Linked DNA regions of Homo sapiens: regions 1, 3, 4, 5, 6 and 7 are each linked to region 2. The links are contacts of gene promoters, found by promoter capture Hi-C in blood cells and fetal thymus (Javierre and others, 2016). All regions are on one chromosome and are shown on one strand. The core of a region is centred on a gene start or on the middle of the fragment in contact, and the rest is flanking DNA. Distances in the headings are between cores, read along the strand shown. Region 1 overlaps DERL2 (derlin 2). Region 2 holds the start of MED31 (mediator complex subunit 31). Region 3 holds the start of C1QBP (complement C1q binding protein). Region 4 holds the start of KRABD2 (KRAB domain containing 2). Region 5 overlaps NDEL1 (nudE neurodevelopment protein 1 like 1). Region 6 overlaps NLRP1 (NLR family pyrin domain containing 1). Region 7 holds the start of LOC101928044 (zinc finger CCHC domain-containing protein 9-like).

What was found. Contacts are between HindIII fragments. The CHiCAGO score rates a contact against its expected background, and 5 or more counts as called.
Region 1: a fragment that was not itself captured here is called in contact with the fragment with the promoter of MED31 in region 2 in 4 of 17 cell types (erythroblasts, naive CD4 T cells, activated CD4 T cells and 1 more); the score reaches 9.4 in erythroblasts.
Region 3: a contact is called between the fragment with the promoter of C1QBP here and the fragment with the promoter of MED31 in region 2, in 3 of 17 cell types (erythroblasts, M2 macrophages and M0 macrophages). The highest score is 7.2, in erythroblasts.
Region 4: a fragment that was not itself captured here is called in contact with the fragment with the promoter of MED31 in region 2 in 1 of 17 cell types (non-activated CD4 T cells); the score reaches 5.0 in non-activated CD4 T cells.
Region 5: a fragment that was not itself captured here is called in contact with the fragment with the promoter of MED31 in region 2 in 1 of 17 cell types (activated CD4 T cells); the score reaches 6.0 in activated CD4 T cells.
Region 6: a contact is called between a fragment that was not itself captured here and the fragment with the promoter of MED31 in region 2, in 2 of 17 cell types (naive CD8 T cells and M0 macrophages). The highest score is 6.1, in naive CD8 T cells.
Region 7: a contact is called between a fragment that was not itself captured here and the fragment with the promoter of MED31 in region 2, in 1 of 17 cell types (total CD4 T cells). The highest score is 5.3, in total CD4 T cells.

What each region holds. Positions count from the first base shown.
Region 1 is chr17:5,469,141-5,472,364 of GRCh38, reverse strand. DERL2 (derlin 2) reads left to right here. Exons shown (of 7, transcript NM_016041.5): 7 at 1-1,111. It overlaps DHX33-DT (DHX33 divergent transcript), which reads right to left. Exons shown (of 3, transcript NR_135644.1): 2 at 2,371-2,451; 3 at 2,005-2,273. Among named protein-coding and RNA genes, the nearest start is that of DHX33-DT, 1.7 kb to the right of the region's middle. The HindIII fragment of the contact is 1,060 bases long and covers 1,185-2,244 here.
Region 2 is chr17:6,650,168-6,653,323 of GRCh38, reverse strand. It overlaps MED31 (mediator complex subunit 31), which reads left to right and starts at 1,719. Exons shown (of 4, transcript NM_016060.3): 1 at 1,719-1,823; 2 at 2,891-2,968. The coding sequence starts at 1,796. It overlaps C17orf100 (chromosome 17 open reading frame 100), which reads right to left and starts at 1,562. Exons shown (of 1, transcript NM_001105520.2): 1 at 1-1,562. The coding sequence starts at 1,410. The coding sequence ends at 1,054. RefSeq lists silencers at 1,195-1,244, 1,545-1,624 and enhancers at 1,875-2,004, 2,075-2,154, 2,245-2,304. The HindIII fragment of the contact is 11,591 bases long and covers 1-3,156 here.
Region 3 is chr17:5,437,771-5,441,053 of GRCh38, reverse strand. C1QBP (complement C1q binding protein) reads left to right here and starts at 1,899. Exons shown (of 6, transcript NM_001212.4): 1 at 1,899-2,212; 2 at 2,781-2,931. The coding sequence starts at 1,981. DHX33 (DEAH-box helicase 33) reads left to right here. Exons shown (of 12, transcript NM_020162.4): 12 at 1-137. RefSeq lists an enhancer at 1,503-1,682 and silencers at 1,742-1,924, 1,903-2,072, 2,183-2,232. The HindIII fragment of the contact is 1,457 bases long and covers 1,335-2,791 here.
Region 4 is chr17:8,375,732-8,379,277 of GRCh38, reverse strand. It overlaps KRABD2 (KRAB domain containing 2), which reads left to right and starts at 2,574. Exons shown (of 2, transcript NM_001304947.3): 1 at 2,574-3,378. RPL26 (ribosomal protein L26) reads left to right here. Exons shown (of 4, transcript NM_000987.5): 4 at 1,586-1,762. The coding sequence ends at 1,714. RefSeq lists a silencer at 2,440-2,639 and an enhancer at 2,384-2,935. The HindIII fragment of the contact is 367 bases long and covers 1,735-2,101 here.
Region 5 is chr17:8,436,045-8,439,295 of GRCh38, reverse strand. It overlaps NDEL1 (nudE neurodevelopment protein 1 like 1), which reads right to left. Exons shown (of 9, transcript NM_030808.5): 1 at 3,251. Among named protein-coding and RNA genes, the nearest start is that of NDEL1, 1.8 kb to the right of the region's middle. RefSeq lists silencers at 2,859-3,098, 3,139-3,251. The HindIII fragment of the contact is 399 bases long and covers 1,795-2,193 here.
Region 6 is chr17:5,557,933-5,560,975 of GRCh38, reverse strand. It overlaps NLRP1 (NLR family pyrin domain containing 1), which reads left to right. Exons shown (of 17, transcript NM_033004.4): 4 at 933-2,637. Among named protein-coding and RNA genes, the nearest start is that of NLRP1, 25 kb to the left of the region's middle. The HindIII fragment of the contact is 1,966 bases long and covers 615-2,580 here.
Region 7 is chr17:5,510,627-5,514,160 of GRCh38, reverse strand. LOC101928044 (zinc finger CCHC domain-containing protein 9-like) reads left to right here and starts at 1,435. Exons shown (of 1, transcript XM_047437231.1): 1 at 1,435-2,209. The coding sequence starts at 1,534. The coding sequence ends at 2,121. It overlaps NLRP1 (NLR family pyrin domain containing 1), which reads left to right. Exons shown (of 17, transcript NM_033004.4): 17 at 1-43. The HindIII fragment of the contact is 2,014 bases long and covers 1,139-3,152 here.

The DNA of each region.
Region 1 (3,224 bases), core at 465-2,964, 1.2 Mb after region 2:
ACTTTCTCCCCAATTTACCTCTCAATCTTAGTTCTTCCAGAACACACTTCCCTTTCACAATGCAAATAAACTGAAAGTGAGATTTGATACATGGAATTTTGAGACCAACCAACTAACCTTACACATAATTTGAGGGATTCCTGGATTCTTCTAGTGATACTGAAAAGCACACTTGACTAAAGCATAGTGTTTTTTGTTTGTTATGGAAATACGGTATACGTTCATTTAAAAATAAATGGACATACAAATTGCATCTCCTTAGGAGATACATTTTATATACATTTCGGTGCGTTTTTTTCCAGTATGGATTTCTATTTGTTTCTCTCTTCCTCTTGTTTTTTCTGTGTCACTCTTGTATGTCCTCATATCTTTCATACCTCTTGTGTAGTCTCTAGAAGCAGAACACCTAAGTCCTGGGTCTGGATAATGAAACCCTCAGTCTCTGGGGCCTCTGAAAATAAGGAAGCATTGGAGCTATTGCCATGTTGAGTAATGGGCTTCCTAGAACTATTGTCATCTATCCTGCCAGTGTTTTATGTTGTAGCTGTTTTTCTTTGACAGGTGAGTTCCAGCTATGTTGTTAGTCATGATCCTGCCATTATTTTCTGTGTTCTGTAGGATGTCTCCAGGCTACTTAAACATATTTTATGAGTTTGCAATAAAATTGTTGAATCTTGTATGATCAAGTCACTCCTCTGCTCAGAAATCCACAGTGACTTCTTAGTAAGCCCCTACATTATATGCATACTTGTTTTTTTCTTAACTTTACTCCCACTTCTACCTAACAGGGACCTCAACTTAAGTCTCTTCAGTTCTTCAAGGCCTGGCCTTGTTCCTGATTCCTCAAAAAATCTTGACTCTAAGGCCTATTTTATTGTCTGTCTCTGAATCCCTATAAAGCTTCAAGTCTGTATGACATTCTTAACGCCAAATTATATATTGTCTTGTACTGTTCCTAGCTGGTACATGTATATTAGTCTTGTCTCCCTCATGAGAATGTAAGCTCCTTAAGGGCAGGGACCATGTCTTAATTTTTGTATCCACCACAGTGCCTAGCACAGTGCTTGGCACATGGGTGCTGAATAAATACCTTTGTTTATTGATCAGCAAAGTATTATCTGGTATTTTTAATTATAGAGGGATTAAAGTGTATGCATGCAAGCTTGAGCCTAGTTGCTGAAGCTTGTGGTTGTCTCTGAAAGTGGGATAGAGGGAAACTGAACATGATCAAGGGCAGTAATTTGGTGGTCGGAAAAGCAAAGGTGACCACCAGCTGTTATGGTCGTGATCAGACCAGTTAAGTCCACAGACCATCCCAGACAAGTTAAAAATGAAATGTGTCTGACACTTCGTCGTTTGAAGGAAGAACCAGGATATTCTCTGAATAGTTATTAGCTTGTCAGTATCTACATATGAAAGCTGGTGAACCCCAAGAGACTTCTTCAGGAGAAACAGCAGATTTCAGTCTACCAATGGGAGAAATGTGAGCAGCATGGCTTGATGCATATATAGGACTTAATTTTTCCACTCTTTGGTCCTCTTAGCTTTGAGGCTATAGAATAGCTGGATCATTAGGCCAGAGATTATGGATGAGTTACCTACAGATTTGTTACCTACCTATGTGCTTTGTTTTGACAGTACTTTTTTTTTTTTTAAGTTTAAACCTGTATTTAACATTGACAGATAAAAATCTTCACTTTTGGCTTTTCTTGAGAAAATTGGAAGATCTGGCAATAATAGGTCTACATGACAGCCATTGCCTAGAAATGATTAGGGGCTGCATGTAGAGGTGGAATGTGCTCCATCAAGAAATAAGTCCACCCATTTACATTACCTAAATTATTGTAATCATTTGGAACATCGGACTCCTACCTTAAGTTACTCTGGAAAGCACACTGGGAAAAAGGACTGGGATGTCTTTACTCAAAGTCCATAATTTGAGAGTTAACATTTATTATCCCTTGTAGTTTTGGGTTGCCTTTCTAAATATTTCAGGGTAGGAAGTGAAAATTTGTCAGTTTATTCTTAAACACAAATCTGCTGCTGGTTCAACGTGCACATTTTCAGTAATGCCTGGTCACCAAACTGTCAGCAACTAGAGGAAAATTATCTCCGACCTGGAGCAAAGGGGAGGTTTTTTGTTTTTAGACTAGCTCTCTCACGAATCACGGGAAGGGAGATATTTAACAGGGCGAGTTTCATGGAAACGAGCTTCAGAAGATACCCTTCACATGAGCTGAAGCTTACGGTGTATTCTCTGGAAATCACATTTCCTGTAAGAGCAAACAGCTACTTGGCATTCTCCGTGGTAAATTAGCAAATCATCTAAGAACTTTTAGGAGGGTAAGGAAGAACTAGTTATAATCCTACTTTTTTCTGCTGCAGTTCTGAATCTTCACTGAAGTGTCTGTGATGGGGTTGCACAGCCATGTAGAGAACTTGAGAGTCTGGCTGGAATGGTTGGGGGAAAGGAAAGATAAAAGACAATTTTAATTTCATTGAACTCCCTCCTTTCTCTGCTTGTATTACTGGAGGCGACCACATCCGTTGGAGGAGTCATTTTCTGAGTTAAATTCATGTATATCAGAATTGGTTTTCCTTTCTGTAACACAAGATGATCACAAAATTATGATTTGGGGACATCTGAATGACTAAGATGACTCAATTTCTTAATCTGTAAATTAGAGATAATCTAATAACCAGTATATACCACATAACTTATAAGTTGTTTAGAGGATTAGACAATGCACGTTTGCGCTTCTCATTGATTTTACAGAATTAAGTACTTTCCTTGAAGAGTGACTGTTATTTGGACAGAGAAGGGGAAAACGCGGGTTTACTGAAAAGAAGTAATGCTACTAGAACAAAACAATGGGCGGGGCGCGGTGGCTCACGCCTATAATCCCAGCACTTTGGGAGGCCGAGGCAGGCGGATCACCTGAGGTCGGGAGTTCAAGACCAGCCTGACCAACATGGAGAAACCCTGTCTCTACTAAAAATACAAAATTAGACGGGCCCCGGTGGCGCACGCCTGTAACCCCAGCTACTTGGGAGGCTGAGGCAGGAGAATCGCTTGAACCCAGGAGGCGGAGGTTGCAGTGTGAGCCGAGATCGCGCCATTGCACTCCAGCCTGGGCAACAAGAGCGAAACTCCATCTCAAAAAAAAAAAATAAAACAATGAGAAAAACCTCGTTAACCAAGACTACAGTCCCACGGAACCTTA
Region 2 (3,156 bases), core at 470-2,969:
GAATACAGACAGTTCCCAACTTAAGATGGTTTGACTTATGATTTTTCGACTTTACAATGGTACAAAAGTGACATTCAGTAGAAATAGTACTTTAAGTACTCTTACAACCATTCTTTTTCACTTTTAGTACAGTATGCAATAAATTACATGAGATATTCAACATTTTATTATAAAACAGGCTTTCTGTTAGATGATTTTGCTCAACTTTAGGTGTTCTGAGCATGTTTAAGGTAGGCTAGGCTAAGCCATGATGTTTAGTAGGTTAGGGGTATTAAGTGCATTTTCAAATTACCATATTTTCAACTTACAATAGTTTCAACGGGAGGTAACCCCATCGTAAGTGGAGGAACATCTAGTGCCTGGCACAGAGCCGGTTCTCAATAAATATAACTCTTCTCCATCTTCTTCAAACCTCAGGCCAGGTTTCAGTGACCTCCTCTCACTTTCTAAGATTATTTTTGCTTGCTGGTGGGTTTACTGTCATTTTTAACCACATCTAACCTACCTTAAAAAAGTGTATGGATGGGGGTGCCAGGTACAAAGACTTAGCATAAAGAAAACGACCATTTACTTTGAAACATAAACAAAGGCCAATTAATAATTTATGAGTCTGTTCCTTGTCCCTCGAGTTTTTAGCAGGCATGGAATCATTCCACAGGTCATTATTTCAGTTTGGTCTCTGTTCCTAAGGGGTGAAGGTTTTCTGAGGGCTGTGGATCCCAAACTCACCTGGCTCAGAGGCTCAAACAGCCTCTCTTTGTCCATCAACCCGATTTAGACAGCATCCTGGGCCTGAAAACCTTCTGTGCTGGCTTCAAGTGAAAATAGTTCACTGGGTCAAAAGTAGGCTGGTCCAAGACGCAGGACGGTCAGTAAACGTTGGCTGTGTTCAGAAACTGCGGCTTGGCTGTTTCTTACATTGATTTATGGTTTGTTTCCATGAAACCGAAAATGATTGGTCCACCTGGCAGCTGGCTGGCTGGCTGGCAACTGGAGGCCTTTCTGTCCTGGCTGAGGGCCCTGGCCCCTTGGTGGCCTTTGGGAAGCAGCATCTCATCGGGCCGTTTTTTCGTTCTGGCGGGCGGCCGGCTTGGCCCGCGGGGTCGGGCTCTCCGCGCAGTGCAGAGACGTCTCCACCCTCAGGGACGAGGCTCTGACGTGGCGGGAGGTCGTTTCCGTGCGCTGCGAGGAGGATTCCACGTGCCGGGAGGACGCCTCGAGGATGCGAGGGAGCCGCTTCCCCGAGGGGGAGAGGGAGGGCCCCTCGCTGCGGCGCTGGGAGGTCTCCACCCGCCGGGACGACGTCTCCACGCGGTGGGACGAGGTCTCCACGCGGACCGTGGACGTCTCTGTGTAGCGGGTGGTCCCCACCCGGGGCGAAGACTGCTTGGCCCCTCGGGCTGAGGCCATTCTGCCGGCGTGAGGGGGCCAGGGAGGCCTCGGGGCACCCTACAGCCCAATGGTCACCGCAGGCAGAAGAGAGGAAAACTACGGTACTGCCATAGCCGGGAGCGCCACAACACGATGACGTGGAAGCACCATGGTCCTTCGAAGGCTAAAACACTGGACTCCTGCCCCTCAGGCGCTCCCACGGCCCGGGCCCCGCCCCCTCGCTATTTTGGAGCCAGCGCGGGTGGAGCCATCCCAGGGCTGGTCGGGGATGGGCGGAGCCGCCCCGCCCCATATCCCACAGTGCCCCGGGACCGGAAGAGGGAGCCGTGGTTTCCGGAACTTCGCCCGCGTCTCTGGGCTTTTGCTCTGTCAGGCTGGTGGCGTTTTGGTGTCTTCGTTTGTTATGGCCGCTGCTGTCGCTATGGAGACAGGTGAGTAGCTCTCTGATCTTGGAGTCTTCGCAGATGGAACTCTCCTTGACCCAGACCTCTTCCCCGTGGCCTCCTTCCAGGCCTTACTCTTGGCAGGGTTAATATTTGGACAGAGAGGAGAGAAGGCTCTTGTAGCGTCTAGAAAGACTAAGGTACTCTTTGCAGTTTTCCTGATTTGGTTTGTTCGCACATCTTTGCTATTCAGACACCACCCCACCAGCTCCCTGGCGTGGGTGAGACTAAGGGAGAGGACTTGTGTGTTAAACCGTGTCCTCCTTGATTGGTTTTCTGCTTCTCACATGAGCTTGCCTAAGTTTGAAATATCGTCGCCAGACTTGTGTATCATTCTGCTACTGGTGCTTCTTTTTTTTTTTTTTTTTGAGACAGCGTCTGGCTCTGTCGCCCAGGCTGGGGTGCAGTGGCGCGATCTCGGCTCACTGCAAGCTCCGCCTCCTGGGTTCACGCCATTCTCCTGCCTCAGCCTCTCAAGTAGCTGGGACTACAGGAGCCCGCCACCGCTCCCGGCTAATTTTTTTTGTATTTTTAGTAGAGACGGGGTTTCACTGTGTTAGCCAGGATGGTCTCGATCTCCTGACCCTGGTGCTTCTTATATGCATGCGCTGCATGATCTTTTAGGCTCTCCGCAGTCTCTTGCATCCTAAGTTTTTCTTTACTGATTCAGCCCCTAGCGTTTGCGAAACTTAATCACTGTTAACAGTTGTTACAACGCATTATTAAAATAGGGGAAGCCACAGTTATTACAGCCTACCTTAGTGATCACTGTTAAAATTCCTACATAGTGGCCCACGAGTGGTAGGAATTCTCCGTTTGTGTTGCTGTTTTCTTTGATGATTTCTCTTTAACTTTAGAGAAACTTCTAACTTACTCCTTTTAATCAGGGCTCCGCTTTTCTTAGATTTCGAAGGAAGGTTTATCTCCTCCCACTCCTAGTTTAGGAAGACCATCTCAACATTAGTCAGGTTTCTTTATTGCTCTTTCCTTACTACAAATCAGTATTATATACAGTGACCTTTGTTTTCCATGATTTTTGCTGTCTTGTCTCCTAGATGATGCTGGAAATCGACTTCGGTTTCAGTTGGAGTTGGAATTTGTGCAATGTTTAGCCAACCCAAATTACCTTAATTGTAAGTTGTTAAGCACCTCATTAAATTGAGTAGCTATTAATGATTTCTGACAGAAGAGTTGCAGTTCAAAATAGTATCTACTTTTACACATTCTCAGTTGAATGACATTACACTTATGCTGGTATATAGATATAATTGCGTACTGGGACTTGTGTTTTGAATCCAATGTGTGTTGGTGGTGGGGGTGT
Region 3 (3,283 bases), core at 650-3,149, 1.2 Mb after region 2:
AAATCAAGTAGGTTCAGGCTTATGTTGTATTTTGAGAGTCTGGTTTTATTTGAACAGAAATAACTCTACAGAAAGCTCTTGTAAATAATGCTCAAATTTGCACCCGACGATCAAATCCATTAAAAATGAATCTTGTATATGATGTGTGTGGCTTGTTTCTTGCATCTCTTTTCCATTATTCATAGAAAATTATTTAGAAAATATTAAGTGTTAGTCTTACCATGAGTTAGTAAGACATACCTTCTTAGTAGCTTATATGTCCTGTATATCCTGGGAAGGTAGGATTGTTGATTTTTAATAAATCTGAACCCTGTCTTTGGGTTATATTAATTTACTGGAGAAACTCACAGAACTCAGGGAAACACATTTACCGGTTTCATACAAAAGATATGACCAAGGATACAGATAAGGAGATGAGCAGGGTGGGGAATGGGGAAGAAGCTCCCAGCCTCCATGCCGTCCCTGGACCACCACCCTCCAGGAACCTCCATGTATTTAGCTATCAGAGGCTCTCCAAACCCTGTCCTCGGGTTTTTATGGAAGCCTCTGGACTTATCTAAATGATATAAGCTGGCTTCTTGTCCCCAGAAAAATGATGTTCCATTAGAACTTGGATGCAAGGTTGGAGGTGCAGAGAGGGAAGGTCACAAAAATTAATCATGGATCCTGCCCTTGAGGATGTCACAGTCTGGTTGGGTTTAACCTGGTTAAAGCAGCAACGCTAGGAGGTTCCTGTTGAAAAGAGAATGAAGCATATGGGCTGGGTGCGCACAAGCATGAGTTCCGAGCCGGTGGAAAAAAAGGTTCTAGAAGGCCTCTTTCAGGAAAACCCTCAGACTTTCCTTTGCTCTCACAACACAACAATCAACACAGAAGACTTATGTGGCCAAAGGTTTGGGTTTTTCCCCTCCACACTAAGCAGCAGACACCAGCTGGGTGTCCTCCAATTCAATCCCAACAGTATCTACCTGGAGATAGTGTCAGATCCCATAGGTTGAGGGCTCAGTCCCCAAGACCGCCCCCACCTTCAGACAGCAATGGCAAGTCTGGGCCTCTGAAACTTCCGACCAACCCGCTTCAAGTTGGGGTTCCCACGACCCCCCTCTTTGGATTATGTTAACTCACTGGAGCAGTTCACAGAACTCAGGGAAACACATTCACCGGTTTCATATAAAGGATATGACCAAGGATACAGATGAGATGAGCAGGGTGGGGAATGGGGAAGAAGCTCCGAGGTTCCTTGCCTACCCTGGGCCACCACCCTCCAGGAACCTCTACGTATTCAGCTGTCAGAGGCTCTGCAAACCCTCTCCTCTTGGGTTTTTATGGAAGCTTCTGGACATCAGCATCCCTTCCCCCAGGGTATATGGTGGGACCTTCTCTGGGAAGGGACTTAAGACCCATAATCAGAAATGTGGAAGGAGATTAGAGTCCTGCTTTGGGGCAGGTAAAAGGAGGGCAGGAGAAGGGGAGAGTCTGTTTCCTGAGGCCTAACACACCCAACATTATCACAGAACATTGTAACAAGGGCTATAGGAGTTACGACCCAGGAACTGTGGATGAAAACCAATACATATATATATCATAACACCACAGCCTCCTAGAGGAAAGTGACCGTGGAAGGGTCTGGTGAGAGCTGGCGGGAGACAAGAGTGCATTCCACGCAGCCCAAAAGCCTTGCGTGCTTTGAGAACAGCAGGTGGAAAGTGGGTAAGCGGCCACTAGAGGGAATTAAACAGCTTCGGACAGCGGACTCGGCAGCGCAGCAAGAAAGCTCCGGAATCCGGATTCGAGGCTTCCCGGGCTGCACCGGAGTCTCCAGCAGAGGGCGCGATTCCGCCCGCTGGCCTTAGGTCGTCAGAGCGCCGGCGCGGGAAGCGCTTCCGGGCAGGGGCGGGGCTTCCGGCGGCGCCTCAGGTCGCGGGGCGCCTAGGCCTGGGTTGTCCTTTGCATCTGCACGTGTTCGCAGTCGTTTCCGCGATGCTGCCTCTGCTGCGCTGCGTGCCCCGTGTGCTGGGCTCCTCCGTCGCCGGCCTCCGCGCTGCCGCGCCCGCCTCGCCTTTCCGGCAGCTCCTGCAGCCGGCACCCCGGCTGTGCACCCGGCCCTTCGGGCTGCTCAGCGTGCGCGCAGGTTCCGAGCGGCGGCCGGGCCTCCTGCGGCCTCGCGGACCCTGCGCCTGTGGCTGTGGCTGCGGCTCGCTGCACACCGACGGTGAGGTTTAGCGGGCCGGGGGTGTGGTTTGCGTTCAACAGAGGGAAAACGTAGACCAGGAATAGGGCCTGCAACCGACCTCTGAGGTCTGGGACATTTTTCCATTGATTGGCAACCAGCGGGCTAAACCCACGTATGATCATATTTCCCCCACCTCCCCTATCCAGCAGTTTCGTTTTCTTTTGGTAGGGGGTGAATAAAATTAAATACTAGGGTACCTTTTTCCTTAGTCTTATTCTATCGAAAGTGGACCTTTGGGAAGGCCCATGGTCGTGGTTGAAAATAGCATAGTTATATCGTTTGGCAAGTGGAAGAGGATTGGAAATTCTCCTGGTTTATAGCGGAAAGTGGTAATGCGTTCATTGTTGGAAATCACTTTTCCAGAATCAGGCTCAGCTTCCTACTACTATTATGGTATTTTTACCGATAAGGAAACAGGCTTCTAGAGTAACCGTAATAGCAGAGAGATTAGAAACAGTCCAGGTTTCTGGCTGCAATAACCTGGGTAATAGTTTTATGTTTTAGACTAACTGGCTTTCCTTTTTATGTATCTGGATTTCTTTTCTAGGAGACAAAGCTTTTGTTGATTTCCTGAGTGATGAAATTAAGGAGGAAAGAAAAATTCAGAAGCATAAAACCCTCCCTAAGATGTCTGGAGGTTGGGAGCTGGAACTGAATGGGACAGAAGCGAAATTAGTGCGGAAAGTTGCCGGGGAAAAGTAAGTACTGGTCTGGGGATCCCAGGGCAGCAACTCCCTTAACCTTGCAGGACCCATCCTGGGTCATCCCCAGAAGAGCCTTGAGTTCAGGTGTGGATACTTTGATAAATGGGTTTCAAGAGAGTGAAGGATTCATTTGGACAACTTCGTAAGCCCCAGGCAGTCCATTCACCGAACACAAATTTGCTGTGGGCTGGTTACTAAGGAGACAAAAATGTAGTGCAAAAAAGTACTGGCAGAATCAGTTTGATCTCTGATTTACAGCCCTGATAAAATAGGACACTGCTCTCTAATGTTTAGTATGGGTGAAAATGAAAAATATGTAACTTCTATGTAACAGGATGGGGTTACA
Region 4 (3,546 bases), core at 669-3,168, 1.7 Mb before region 2:
GCGGAGGTTGCAGTGAGCCGAGATCGCACCATTGCACTTCAGCCTAGGCAACGAGTGAAAACGCCATCTCAAAAAAAAAAAAAGAAAAAAAATAAAGACCTTAACTGATCTTCCCTTACTTCTGACATCTTTTTCCATTCTATATGTTCTAGTCTGCTCGCCTCCTAGCAACTTGGTAGAATTATAAATTCTAAGAGCCCAGGCCTACTGAGGCAAAATTAGGGCTTATGACCCAGGTGTATGTTTTAATAAGCCCTCCAGTTGATTCTTACTCAAGTTTGAGAAACACATCTATGAAACTTGATAATCTCCTGCCTTTGAACCTTTCAACTTGCTGTTCTCTTCCAGATACCTGTGCATAGATAGATTGCTCACCACTTTAGGTCTCTGTTCAAATGTAGGGCTTTGCTTGATCACTCTAGAAAGCCCCTCGGCCTCCTCACACTTGCCTTCTTACTCTATCAAAGTGATGTAGATTCACTTGTAAATGTTTTCGGGCTCCCTATACTAGAATATGAGTTCAGTGACTGTGGAGATTTTTGTTTGGTCTGCATGCTGTATTTCCAGCACCTCTTTTCACCCTTTCCTCGCATTCATAAGACTAAAATTTATCATAATTTGGATGTCTTTTAGGATTGGAACTGTTGGAGTAAGATCGTATTGTCATCTTCTCACTAAAGATTTTGCAGGTGGAATTATGTGTGGATGCTACCTTTAATTTCTAGCATTAAAATTCTGAAGTTACTTTATTATTTTTCTGTTTGGGGGTGGGGTTTTTTTTGTTTTGGACAGAGTTTTGCTCTTGTCGCCCAGCCTGGAAGTGCAATGGTGCGATCTCAGCTCACTGCAACCTCTGCTTCCTGGGTTCAAGCGATTCTCCCGCAGTAGCCTCCTGAGTAGGCATTCACCACACCCTGCTGTTTTGTTACTTGTTTGTTTTTTGAGATGGAGTCTCGATTGATCGCCCAGGCTGGAGTGCAATAATAGCACCATCTCAGCTCACTGCAGCCTCCGCCCCCCCAGGGTTCCAGAGATTCTCCTGCCTCAGCCTCCCAGGTAGCTGGGATTACAGGCATGTGCCACCATACCCAGCTAATTTTTGTATTTTTAGTAGAGAAGGGGTTTCACCGTGTTGGCCAGACTGGTCTCAAACTCCTGACCTCAGGTGATCCGCCTGCCTCTGCCTCCCAAAGTGCTGGGATTGGGGGCATGAACCACCGCACCCAGCCTGAAGTTACTTTGGAAACAAATATATTTGTATATGACAGCTTGTAAAACTGTAGTGAGAAGAGCAGAATCATATATTTCTCAGTGAAAAAGAAACAAATCTTATAATGAAGCACAGAAGAGGCTTTAAGAATTACTGATACCATCTTGCCTTTTCTCCTTTGTTGGTAGGAAATTAGTAAATAAGCCAGGTTTGATGGCTAAAGAGTGATTTCTGGAGTTTTTTAAAAGTTAAAATCTTTTCTTATTAGGCATCCACCTACCCCAGGTTTGGGAAATGGTATTGAATGTTGGGCTTTCCCTTGTGTTTTAGTGATTATTTAAAGCTTGGGAGTGTTTTTTTCTTATTTTTCTGCAGGTGGTTATCACTAGGCTAAAACTGGACAAAGACCGCAAAAAGATCCTCGAACGGAAAGCCAAATCTCGCCAAGTAGGAAAGGAAAAGGGCAAATACAAGGAAGAAACCATTGAGAAGATGCAGGAATAAAGTAATCTTATATACAAGCTTTGATTAAAACTTGAAACAAAGAGCCTGTGTTTTGTGTGTGGTGATTTAGGACACTCCCTAGTTTTCAGTGGATCAGTCTCTTACCTCTGATTTGTTGGTCTAAAATTTTTCTGAAATCAGGACTGATGAGATTTTTTTTATAGTGGGCAGCAGCATTTGAGGATATATCAGAAGCTGGAGGGGTGTCATTGAGAAGAAGAAGGCCTACAAGAAAAGCTAGTTGGAAACACTTCCTCTTGAACCTGTCTTTTAACTTGCTTACTATGGATAGGTTGCTATATGGACAGGCTATATTTTTTACCTTACTGCGTAAAAGTTTGTATTGCCATTGGATAGGAAGTCTTGCTTTCAATAGGATAAGAAGCTTCTGTGACTTTATAGCTTCTAGATGACTTCTTCAAGCTGTTCCTCCAGATTGAGAGGTCTCGGGTTCAGGTTATCTGATAGACCCATGGGCCCCCTTTACCTTGTTTTCTGCACAAGTGCTGGATGAGTGCCATCAAACCAAAACCTAACACGTCTTTGAGTTAAAATATAAACTAAACTGCAGCTTCGTCAGGATGAAGTGAAAAGGTGTGAGGTGGCAGCAGTGTGTGTGCTCCTGCCGTTCCTCATTTTAAGCATCTAAACAGGACACCTGAAGCCCGTTTACTTTCCAGGCTGGAGACTTGGCAACAACGTGGGAATGGGGAACGGGCCCGAGTTAAGTCACTGGCTTAGCCAAGGTCACAGCTGGCATCTGGGTGAACAGCGCTGCACGGTGTCCGCGGTGCCTCTAGGGGGCGGGGCTTCCGGCTGGCGCTGACCGGCTTCCGGCGGAGCGGGCGGGAGGTGGGGCGGAGTTGCTGCTCGGGGGCCTCTGGGTGGAGGGGGATTCAGACGCCGCGTCTGGTGTGTCCCTTTCTCCTTCCTGACCTTCCTCAGTCTGCAGCTCTTTTCTCCACCGCGCGCCCGCCTCAGCCGTTCAGCCCTGAGCTGGCGGGTGGACGGGCATGGATCCAGGCGGTGGGAGCAGTCTGCGAAGTCAGGGTAGGAAGGCTACACAAAGGAGGCGACATCCCAGCCCGGTCCTCAGGAATAAGCGGGCGTGCCCGTGTGGTGTGGACGGTGAGGGGACACTGTATTAAGTGCCTTATCTGCATTATCATTGAATCTTCATAGCAATCGATTGTGATGGGTACTGGTCATCTCCCCGGGTTGTAGATGAGGAAACTGAGGCCTCAGTAACTTTGCTTTAGTCAGTAAATGATAAGAGTCAGCAAATGAATTCCCAAGCGTAGACTCGGCCGTACCGCTGCTCTACCTTGCTAATAACGACCTACCTGTAAGCGACATTTTTGACAAAATGTCCTTTAAACATCTTTTGTGCTCAGCTCTGTATTCGTGGGCCCTCCAAAGGGGGTACAGGCAGGTAGAAGCCTCCGTCCCTACCTTATAGGTTGTATATATCTGAACTGGTCGACTAAAGATGCAAAGCGAAGTGCTCCAGTGAGTGTGGTACAGGTTGTTGAGATGAAGGAGAGATGGCAATCAGCTAAAGTTACTGAATACGTCAGGAAGGAGGCTGGTTTCAGCTGGCTGTGATTGGGAGGATCAATGCGAGGACATTCCGAGTCGGAAACAGCCAAGGCGAAGACTCACAGGTGGGTGAAGGGAGTAAACATGGCTTTGGAAATATTTCCAGTTTTCTCTGACCAACTCGTTTATCACCTAGCCGTCACATAGATCACACCAAGAAGCTGATTGATTTACGGTCACATTTCTTTCATGTTGCTTTGGAAAAGATACTGAAGCCTCGGGCAACATAATGA
Region 5 (3,251 bases), core at 745-3,244, 1.8 Mb before region 2:
CACTCCAGCCTGGGCAAAAGGGTGAGATTCCATCTCAAATAAAAGAAAAAAAAAAAGGCCGGGCACAGTGGCTCACACCTGTAATCCCAGCACTTTGGGAGGCCGAGGCGGGCGGATCACGAGGTCAGGAGATTGAGACTATCCTGCTAACATGGTGAAACCCCGTCTCTACTAAAAACACAAAAAACTAGCTGGGCGTGGTGGTGGGCACCTGCAGTCCCAGCTACTCGGGAGGCTGAGGCAGGAGAATGGCGTGAACCCGGGAGGCAGAACTTGCAGTGAGCCGAGAGCGCGCGACCGCACTCCACTCCAGCCTGGGTGACAGAGAGAGACTCCGTTTCAAAAAAAAAAAAAAAGAACAAAGCAAAAACTTCTTACTTTGTGGTCACACCTCATCTTTATTGCTTCCTAACTGGTATTATCCAGCTCTATTGCCCTACTTTTACCCATCAGATTTACTCTTTTTAAAAATCAGATTCTGGCCAGGCACAGTGGCTCGCGCATATTAATCCCAGCACTTGGAAGGCTGAGGTGGGAATGTCAGTTGAGCCTGGAACTTCAAGGCCAGCCTGGACAACATGCTGAAACCCCATCTCTAACAAAAATACAAAAATGAGCTGGGTGTGGTGGCATGCACCTGTGGTCCCAGCTACTCGTGAGACTGTGGTGGGAGGATCGCTTGAGTCCAGGAAGTTGAGGCTGCAGTAAGCTGTAATCACTCCACTGCACTCCAGCCTGGGTGACAAAATGAGACCCTGCCTCCAAAAAAATAAAAATAAAAATCAGATTATTTACAAATAATAAAATTTGCTACCACTGCAGATACTCAAACGACAGTTTCAGGGGCTGTTATACAGTCTGTTCAGTTTGCTTCAAGTTACACTGGGAGGATGTGTTCACTTATTTCAAACTATGTAACTGGAGATATTCAGGCTATAGAAAGTTAGCTAATATAGAAAACATACTGCTAAAACAATGCTCTAATGGTACATCCACAATTTTCTGAAGCTAGAATGAAGATAGATAATTATGTATTATTGGCAGGGCACGGTGGCTCACGCCTGTAATCCCAGCACTTTGTGAGGCTGAGGCAGGCGGATCACGAGGTGAGGAGTTCGAGACCAGCCTGACCAACATGGTGAAACCCTGTCTCTACTAAATATACAAAAATTAGCAGGGCATCGTGGTGCGCACCTGTAATCCCAGCTACTCAGGAGGCTGAGGCAGGAGAATCGCTTGAATCCAGGAGGTGGAGGTTGCAGTGAGCCGAGATTGTGCCACTGCACTCCAGCCTGGGCAACAGAGGGAGACTCCATCAAAGAAAAAAAAAATTATTATTCTCTGCCCGCCCCCACCCCATCTTTCTTTAATACCAGATCTCAATACGGACACAGTCTCAAAAGCATGACAATTTTTACGTAAAGCATTATCATACTGTGTATGACCTTCAGAAATCTAGCAACAATCAACTCATTTGAGTTTAAAACAGCCTGTCCAAAATGCCTTTTATTTACAAGGAAATTATTCTTTGTACAATGGTAAGAAAATCTATTTTCAATGATATTGTTTCTGGTTAACAGTTCTAAAATGGACTGACGTTAGAAGAGTTCTTTCAGAACTCACTGTTGGCAATATATGCCTTTTTACTGAAATTCTACTACTCTCAAAGGTGACATTTACAGAATTTTTAACTCTTCAAAGTTGATCATAAACACGGTCTCTCTTTGATTCTATCAGACTTCTTTTTTACTTTATGGAGTGCTCAGAAACTTACGTCAGAAGTAATTTTAAGCTTTAGTAACCAAATTTATCCCAGCATGGTTTAAAATGAAAACAAAAATAAGTTGTTTTGCAGATGTCATGAAAGCAAGATCTAAGTTTTACTAAGGTTCCTACTTATTTTAAGCTCTTTATCCAACTTCAATTTATTTAATTTAAAAAAATCAAAAGAACTACAGCTTCAGAAGATTTAGCAACTTCTATCTGGATCAAGTCAACCTCTAACCAGGGCTGGCCAAAGGTTTTGTTTCTCACGCACTCTAATTTTAAATAACAATAATTTTAATAATAATTCAGAAGAAATACTTCACTTGGTTTCCCTTTACTTCTCTTCAGCCCATGACTTAACGCTGCACTGTGCCCATCAACTTCACGATTTAGCAAAGCAATTAACCAGCAACTCCTGAACAAGCTTCACAGGAAGATTTTTCTCATGACTGAGCAGCCGTTTTTATCCTAGGTGAGTTTTCTCAAAAATAATTGAGTAAGTAATCTACCAGCTTCTGGCATATCTTTGGCAAGTCACATTTTCTGCCTTGTTTTGTAGCTGAGAAGGGTATAAAAATCCCACGAAAAGAAACCAGAACTCCGAGCCTAGAAATGTAAATTATGATCCAAGCTAAACCACTCACCAGTTGGTTGAACCTAAGTATAAATAATTACCCCCATCCCAGCTCCATTTACCCATCGAAATGGCGATAACATAATCAGTTGCAACCACAAGGTGATGCGGTTAGAAAAAGATAGGAAGAAGAGTGCTCTGAAACGTGTAAAGGTGCTACGTAAATAGAAGGTAATAATCAGTGGTGACAGAACTCTCACCTCCTTTGCAAAACTTAAAGGGTCATCTCATGGCTTACAGCAAGAAAAGAGTCGAGCACAAGTAACCCGAGCCCGTTGGTGACACTTTGCCGAACTCCAGGGGGAGGATGATTAGCAGTTCCGGGCGGGAGTCAGGAGAATGCCAATCCGAGCCCAACGTGGGCTGCTCGCGCTCTCGCCCCCCATGGGAGAGAGGCACTGAGAGATCAAAATGCAACCCCGCTCCAAGCCACCCTCGCAAATGAAGGAATTTCGAAGAGGGGGTAGGAGGAGGCGGGCTGGGCGCGCCGCTGCCACCTCCGACTGGGCCACTCCTTGCGCCGCCAGCGCCCCAGCCCACGGTGCCACGTCCCGGCCTCCGTCACCGCCAGCCCTCACCCTACCCGGAACGGGGCACATCTTCCGGAGGCCACCGGAATCGTTCCCTTGCAGGCGCCCCTGGGGGGCCACACATCGGACCAGGGAAGGGAGGGGACAGTTAGAGCGGTTGGAACAGTTGCCCCCAGGCTGGCCGCCCCGGAACCCGGCCCGGCCCGCCCCGGCGGAGCCTCAGACACGGCCCCGGGCCGGGAAGGCTCCCCAAGGGCAGGCCTCGGCGCCGCCGGCCCAGCGCAGCCCCTTAGGGAGCGGCCCCGCGCTGCAGGCTCACC
Region 6 (3,043 bases), core at 348-2,847, 1.1 Mb after region 2:
TTCTATTTGGAATCTGACTAAGATAGGAGCCTGAGGTCCCTCCCTGGGAAACAATGGTGTATATAACCTCAGCTTCTCACAGGTCATGAGGTATCTTCCATCAGTCTCAGGTCGGGCTCGCCCGGAAGCCTGAGACCGGATTTGGTTGCAGGTGGCTTACTGGGGAGGTGATTTCTTGGACTCATCAACAAGAGAGAATGGTGAGGCGGGGAAACCCAGGAAAGGTAGATTATGGAACAGGTTACCTTGTGAGCAACTGAGGCTCCATGCTGCTGCGGTTGTCTGGGAGACGGTGAGAACATGCCTGAGTGTTATCTGTCCTGGGGGCAAGGGACCCCACCTGTCATCCACTAAGGGCACCTCCTGGACTGGAGAACTATCCTCCAGTATTTCTGGCCCACCCGGCTTACAGGCAGAGAAAGAGCCCTCAGACAGATGACCACAGCTGTTGCCGAGGGACACCATTGGCAGGTACTGCAATAGCAGGTGCTTGGGATGCTGTCAGCATCTGCTACACACTCCAGTGTCTCCTCCAGTCCTCCATGACCTACAACCCCCAGCTTACAGATGAGAAAACTGAGGCTCATAGGGGCTAATGGCCAGCATCATAAGCTTAGTGAGGACTGAGAGTTGTGTCTGTTTTGTTCACTCTTTATCCCCAACCCCTATAGCAGCACCTGGCACAGAGTAAGCCCTTGATAAATATTCAGTGAAGGAAAGTCATTCAGGGAGTGTGACTTAGTTGAGTCAAGACTTGAACTGGGATATTCTACCCCAAAGCACATGTCCTTCCGCCGCATGGCAAGAACATACCAGTGTCTGCAGACAGCGCAGTGTGTGGCTTGGAGTAGGTGCCTAAAACAGTTGTTTAATTAATTAATTAATTCTTCTATTCTCTACCTTTATGTTCCTTCTTTCCCTCCCTTACTTAGAAATCAGAGAAAGAGAGAGAGAGAAATCAGAGAAAGGCAGGCCCCCATGGGCAGCGGTGGTAGGAACGCCCCCACAGGCGCACACCAGCCTACAGCCCCACCACCACCCATGGGAGCCTTCTGTGAGAGAGAGCCTCTGTTCCACATGGCCCTGGAAAAATGAGGATTTTAACCAAAAATTCACACAGCTGCTACTTCTACAAAGACCTCACCCCAGAAGCCAAGATCCCCTGGTCAAGAGAAGCTGGCCTGATTATGTGGAGGAGAATCGAGGACATTTAATTGAGATCAGAGACTTATTTGGCCCAGGCCTGGATACCCAAGAACCTCGCATAGTCATACTGCAGGGGGCTGCTGGAATTGGGAAGTCAACACTGGCCAGGCAGGTGAAGGAAGCCTGGGGGAGAGGCCAGCTGTATGGGGACCGCTTCCAGCATGTCTTCTACTTCAGCTGCAGAGAGCTGGCCCAGTCCAAGGTGGTGAGTCTCGCTGAGCTCATCGGAAAAGATGGGACAGCCACTCCGGCTCCCATTAGACAGATCCTGTCTAGGCCAGAGCGGCTGCTCTTCATCCTCGATGGTGTAGATGAGCCAGGATGGGTCTTGCAGGAGCCGAGTTCTGAGCTCTGTCTGCACTGGAGCCAGCCACAGCCGGCGGATGCACTGCTGGGCAGTTTGCTGGGGAAAACTATACTTCCCGAGGCATCCTTCCTGATCACGGCTCGGACCACAGCTCTGCAGAACCTCATTCCTTCTTTGGAGCAGGCACGTTGGGTAGAGGTCCTGGGGTTCTCTGAGTCCAGCAGGAAGGAATATTTCTACAGATATTTCACAGATGAAAGGCAAGCAATTAGAGCCTTTAGGTTGGTCAAATCAAACAAAGAGCTCTGGGCCCTGTGTCTTGTGCCCTGGGTGTCCTGGCTGGCCTGCACTTGCCTGATGCAGCAGATGAAGCGGAAGGAAAAACTCACACTGACTTCCAAGACCACCACAACCCTCTGTCTACATTACCTTGCCCAGGCTCTCCAAGCTCAGCCATTGGGACCCCAGCTCAGAGACCTCTGCTCTCTGGCTGCTGAGGGCATCTGGCAAAAAAAGACCCTTTTCAGTCCAGATGACCTCAGGAAGCATGGGTTAGATGGGGCCATCATCTCCACCTTCTTGAAGATGGGTATTCTTCAAGAGCACCCCATCCCTCTGAGCTACAGCTTCATTCACCTCTGTTTCCAAGAGTTCTTTGCAGCAATGTCCTATGTCTTGGAGGATGAGAAGGGGAGAGGTAAACATTCTAATTGCATCATAGATTTGGAAAAGACGCTAGAAGCATATGGAATACATGGCCTGTTTGGGGCATCAACCACACGTTTCCTATTGGGCCTGTTAAGTGATGAGGGGGAGAGAGAGATGGAGAACATCTTTCACTGCCGGCTGTCTCAGGGGAGGAACCTGATGCAGTGGGTCCCGTCCCTGCAGCTGCTGCTGCAGCCACACTCTCTGGAGTCCCTCCACTGCTTGTACGAGACTCGGAACAAAACGTTCCTGACACAAGTGATGGCCCATTTCGAAGAAATGGGCATGTGTGTAGAAACAGACATGGAGCTCTTAGTGTGCACTTTCTGCATTAAATTCAGCCGCCACGTGAAGAAGCTTCAGCTGATTGAGGGCAGGCAGCACAGATCAACATGGAGCCCCACCATGGTAGTCCTGTGAGTACCCAAACCACCCATGTCTGCAGCTCCTCTGTCAGTCCATAAGCCCGAGTGACCTGAGCACCAGAGGCATGCTCACTGAGCCTGGCCGGGGGTGGGGGTGGCTAAAGGATCAGGGTCTCCAGTGACTTCTAACTGCCCAATCTGACCACCATGCTCTGTCTACCTAAGCTCCTCTGCAGTGCCCGGCTGTGGGGCAGGCCCTGCTTGCTTCTGGAGAGGCCACTGGGCCCTGCCGTGTCTGCCACCTCTCCTCCTACCCTTAGAATGACCGTCCATCTTCTCTCCTGGACGTGCTCCCACCTTCCTGCTGACCTTAGCTACCCCCACACTCCCCAAGGATCAGGCAGCCCCCCTACCCCTGCTCCTCTCTCTGGGCATTCATTCTCTCGGAGAAATTGCT
Region 7 (3,534 bases), core at 896-3,395, 1.1 Mb after region 2:
AAAGAAAAAATGAAAATAAAGGAATAAGAAGTTACCTACTCCATAGGCACAGCAGTCCCGACTGGCTGCTGGTTGGCTATTTTTGTGGTTATTTCTTGATCGTGTGCTAAACAAGGAGTGGATTATTCATGAGTTTTCCAGAGAAAGGGGTGGGAATTCCTGGAACTGAAGGTTCTTCCCCCTTTCAGACTACTTAGGGAAACTTCCAGATGCTGCCATGGCGTTCGTAAACTGTCATGGCGCTGGTGGGAATGTCTTTTAGTATGCTAATGTATTAAAATTAGCATATAATGAGCAGCGAGGACAACCGGAGGTCCCTTTCATCACCATCTTGGTTTGATGGGTTTTGGCTTCTTTACCACATCCTGTTTTATACGAGGAGTCTTTGTGAAACCAGTCCTGCCAACCTCCTATCTTATCCCCACCTCAGACATTACATACTCGTCCTTAATCTTAAGAGGTTGTAGAAGGACAGAGATCTATCTTCTGTCACTGCTTCATGCTGAACAGGGGCCATCATCCCTACCTGCTCTGGAGGCATAGAAATGTCTTCGTACCTGATCGAATGACTTATAGGGACTCCATCTTTTCTGCAGTGGCACAGGCTGGAACACTGGACTAATTATTTTTCTCTGAAACTGTTGTAGCCTGGAAGACATAAACTTGAACCGTCCGAACACCTGATGAATATAACAAATATTTTTAAAATCAAATAGCACCTAGTGATAATTCATAAAATACTTAAGCCCAGTTTTAAAGAAGAGATCAAAGCCAAGCATGGTGGCTCATGCATGTAATCTTAACACTTTGGGAGGCCAAGGCAGGAGGATCACTTGAGCTCAGGCTTTTGAGACTAGCCCGGGCAACATAGACTTTGTCTCTTTAAAAAAATAAGAAAGAAAAAAATAAGAGATCAGATGCCATTTGGAATCTAAGTGAATAGGCTGGAAAACTAGTCTTCTGTTGTCTGAAATACAAAGCCAAACAGATTTTTAATAAGAGAGATTTTTATGAGAACAGAAGAAAAAAAGGTTAATGCTGGACACAGTCTATCCAGGTATTAGACTCAAAAGCATCTTTAGTTATAAAGCAGGAAAGTGGTGGCAATCTGACACGCCTGTATCACAAGGTATAAGCTTTAGCTTGCAGGGCCTCAGGAGAAAGCTAGTAGTAATTTTACTGTATGCAGATCTCTAAGCTGGGGGTGACACAGGAGGTGGGCAGGACTGGCTTCACAAGATGCAGGTCACAAAGACTCCACTGATAAGATGCGGTAAAGAAGCTGGCCAAAGCCCACCAAAGCCAAGATGGCAATGAAAGGGACTCCTGGTTGTCCTCACTGCTCATTATATGCTAATTTTCACCCTCCTGTAGGACCAGCTCCAGCAGTTGTGGGACCCAGTGCAAAATGGAAACACAGGGCCCCTCGTTCAAAAATGATAAGAATGTCAAGACGGTGACAACAGAACATGAAATCAAGCGCCAGGCCCTGCTGAGCTCAGGGCTCTGTGTGACCGCACAGGTCACACACCCATGAGACTGGCCTTGTCTTTCGGGTCCTTCACGCCCCACCCACCCATCTCCTTTACCACATGCAGACCTCCACTCTCCACACAACCCTTCCTCCAAGAGGACAGTCAATGGGAAGTAAGAAGATTTAAAAGACAAGGGGCAAAGAAAAATGCAATGGTGTGTTTCCATTGTAGAAAACCTGGTCGTGGAATTGCGGATTGCCCTGCCGCCCTTGAAAATCAAGATATGGGCACTAGAAGATGTTACAAGTGTGGGTCCACAGATCACGAAATAACCAAGTGTAAGGCTAAAGTAGACCCGCCTCTTGGCGAATGTCCTTTTGCAGAATGTTTTGTCTGTGGAGAAATGGGGCACCTGTCTAGATCTTGTCCTGATAATCCCAAAGGACTCTATGCTGATGGTAGTGGTTGCCAACTTCATGGCTCTGTGGAACATTTAAAGAAAGATTGCCCTGAAAGTGAGAATTCAGATCGAATGGCCACAGTTGGTCTGTGGGCAAAGGGAATAAGTGCAGACTATGAAGACATTGTGGATGCACCAAAACCACAAAAACCCAAAACAAAAATACCTAAAGGTGTTAATTTTTGATAACAACTAGTACTGTCATTAGTTACCACCTCATTGTTACTTTCTAAACCAGGCCCACTTCACAAGTTACAGCTGGGCTCCCTTGTAGCCAGGACTATACTGTAAATATCAGTATGATCTGGGTGTGGTCAAAAACAATTTTCAACAGAGAGAAAGAAGAAAGAAGAGAGAGAAAGAAAAAGGAAGAGAAAGAGGAAGAGGAAGGAATGAAGAAAAAGAGGAAGGAAGGAAGGAAAGAGAGAAAGGAAAGAGAAAGAAAGAAGAAAGAGAAAGAGAAAGAAAAAGAAAAGAGAAAGGGAGGGAGGGAAAGAAGGAAGGACCTACGCGAGGAGGGGCTCCGCCAACCCTCTAAGCCCCGCAACCCCCGCATGCCCCGCCTCCTTCTGCAGACCTCCCCGTCCCTCATCCCAGCAAGTCCTCACGTTAGTTGCCGGAAGCCTAGGAAATGTATTCCTAAATCTGGAGTCGTCTCCATGGCAGCGAGCCCCGAAGTGGAGCCAGTCTTGGAGTAGGAGAAAGGCCAGACACAAACAAGTGTGTGGGGATGGGGGAGACACACATGCATGTCCGCTTTGGATCCAGATTCTCTTTTTTTTTTTTAGACGGAGGCTCGCTCTGTCGCCCAGGCTGGAGTGCAGTGGCGCAATCTCAGCTCACTGCACTCACTGCAACCTCCACCTCCCGGGTTCAAACGATTCTCCTGCCTCAGCCTCCCGAGTAGCTGGGATTACAGGCGCCCACCACCACACCCGGATAAATTTTTGTATTTTTAGTAGAGACGGGGTTTCACCATGTTGGCCAGGCTGGTCTCGAACTCCTGGCATCAAGTGATCCGCCCGCCTCGGCCTCCTAAAGTGCTGGGATTACAAGTGTGAGCCACCGTGCCCGGCCTGGATCTGGATTCTAATAGCAACAGCTAGAATTCTGAGGGACAGGCAGTGAGCTGGGAATCAAATTCTTGGCTCTACCACCCATTAGATGTGTGATCTTGAAACAGGTTTTCAGATGTGTAAGAAGGGAATAGCAAAGCTTGCGTCAAACGGTTGTTTGACTAGGTGAGCTCATGAGTGGGAAGTTGTTCTGGGCGAGCTGGTACACAACACTAGGCAGACAGTAAATCTTAGCTTCTTTGAGCCTGAGGCTGTTGTAGGTGCCAGTGATAACAGAGGCCAGAGTATCTATTCTCAAGCAATTTATATTCTAGTGGCAAGGAGATACGAAATACGCACCCATGTCTGTAATCCCAGCACTTTGAGAGGCGAAGGCCTGAAGATCTATTGAGACCAGGAGTTTGAGACCAGGAGTTCAAGACCAGCCTGGGCAACATAGCAAGACCCCGTCTCTTAAAAAAAAAAATTTTTTTTCATTTTTTTGGCCAGATGCAGTGGCTCATGCCTGTAATCCTAGCACTTT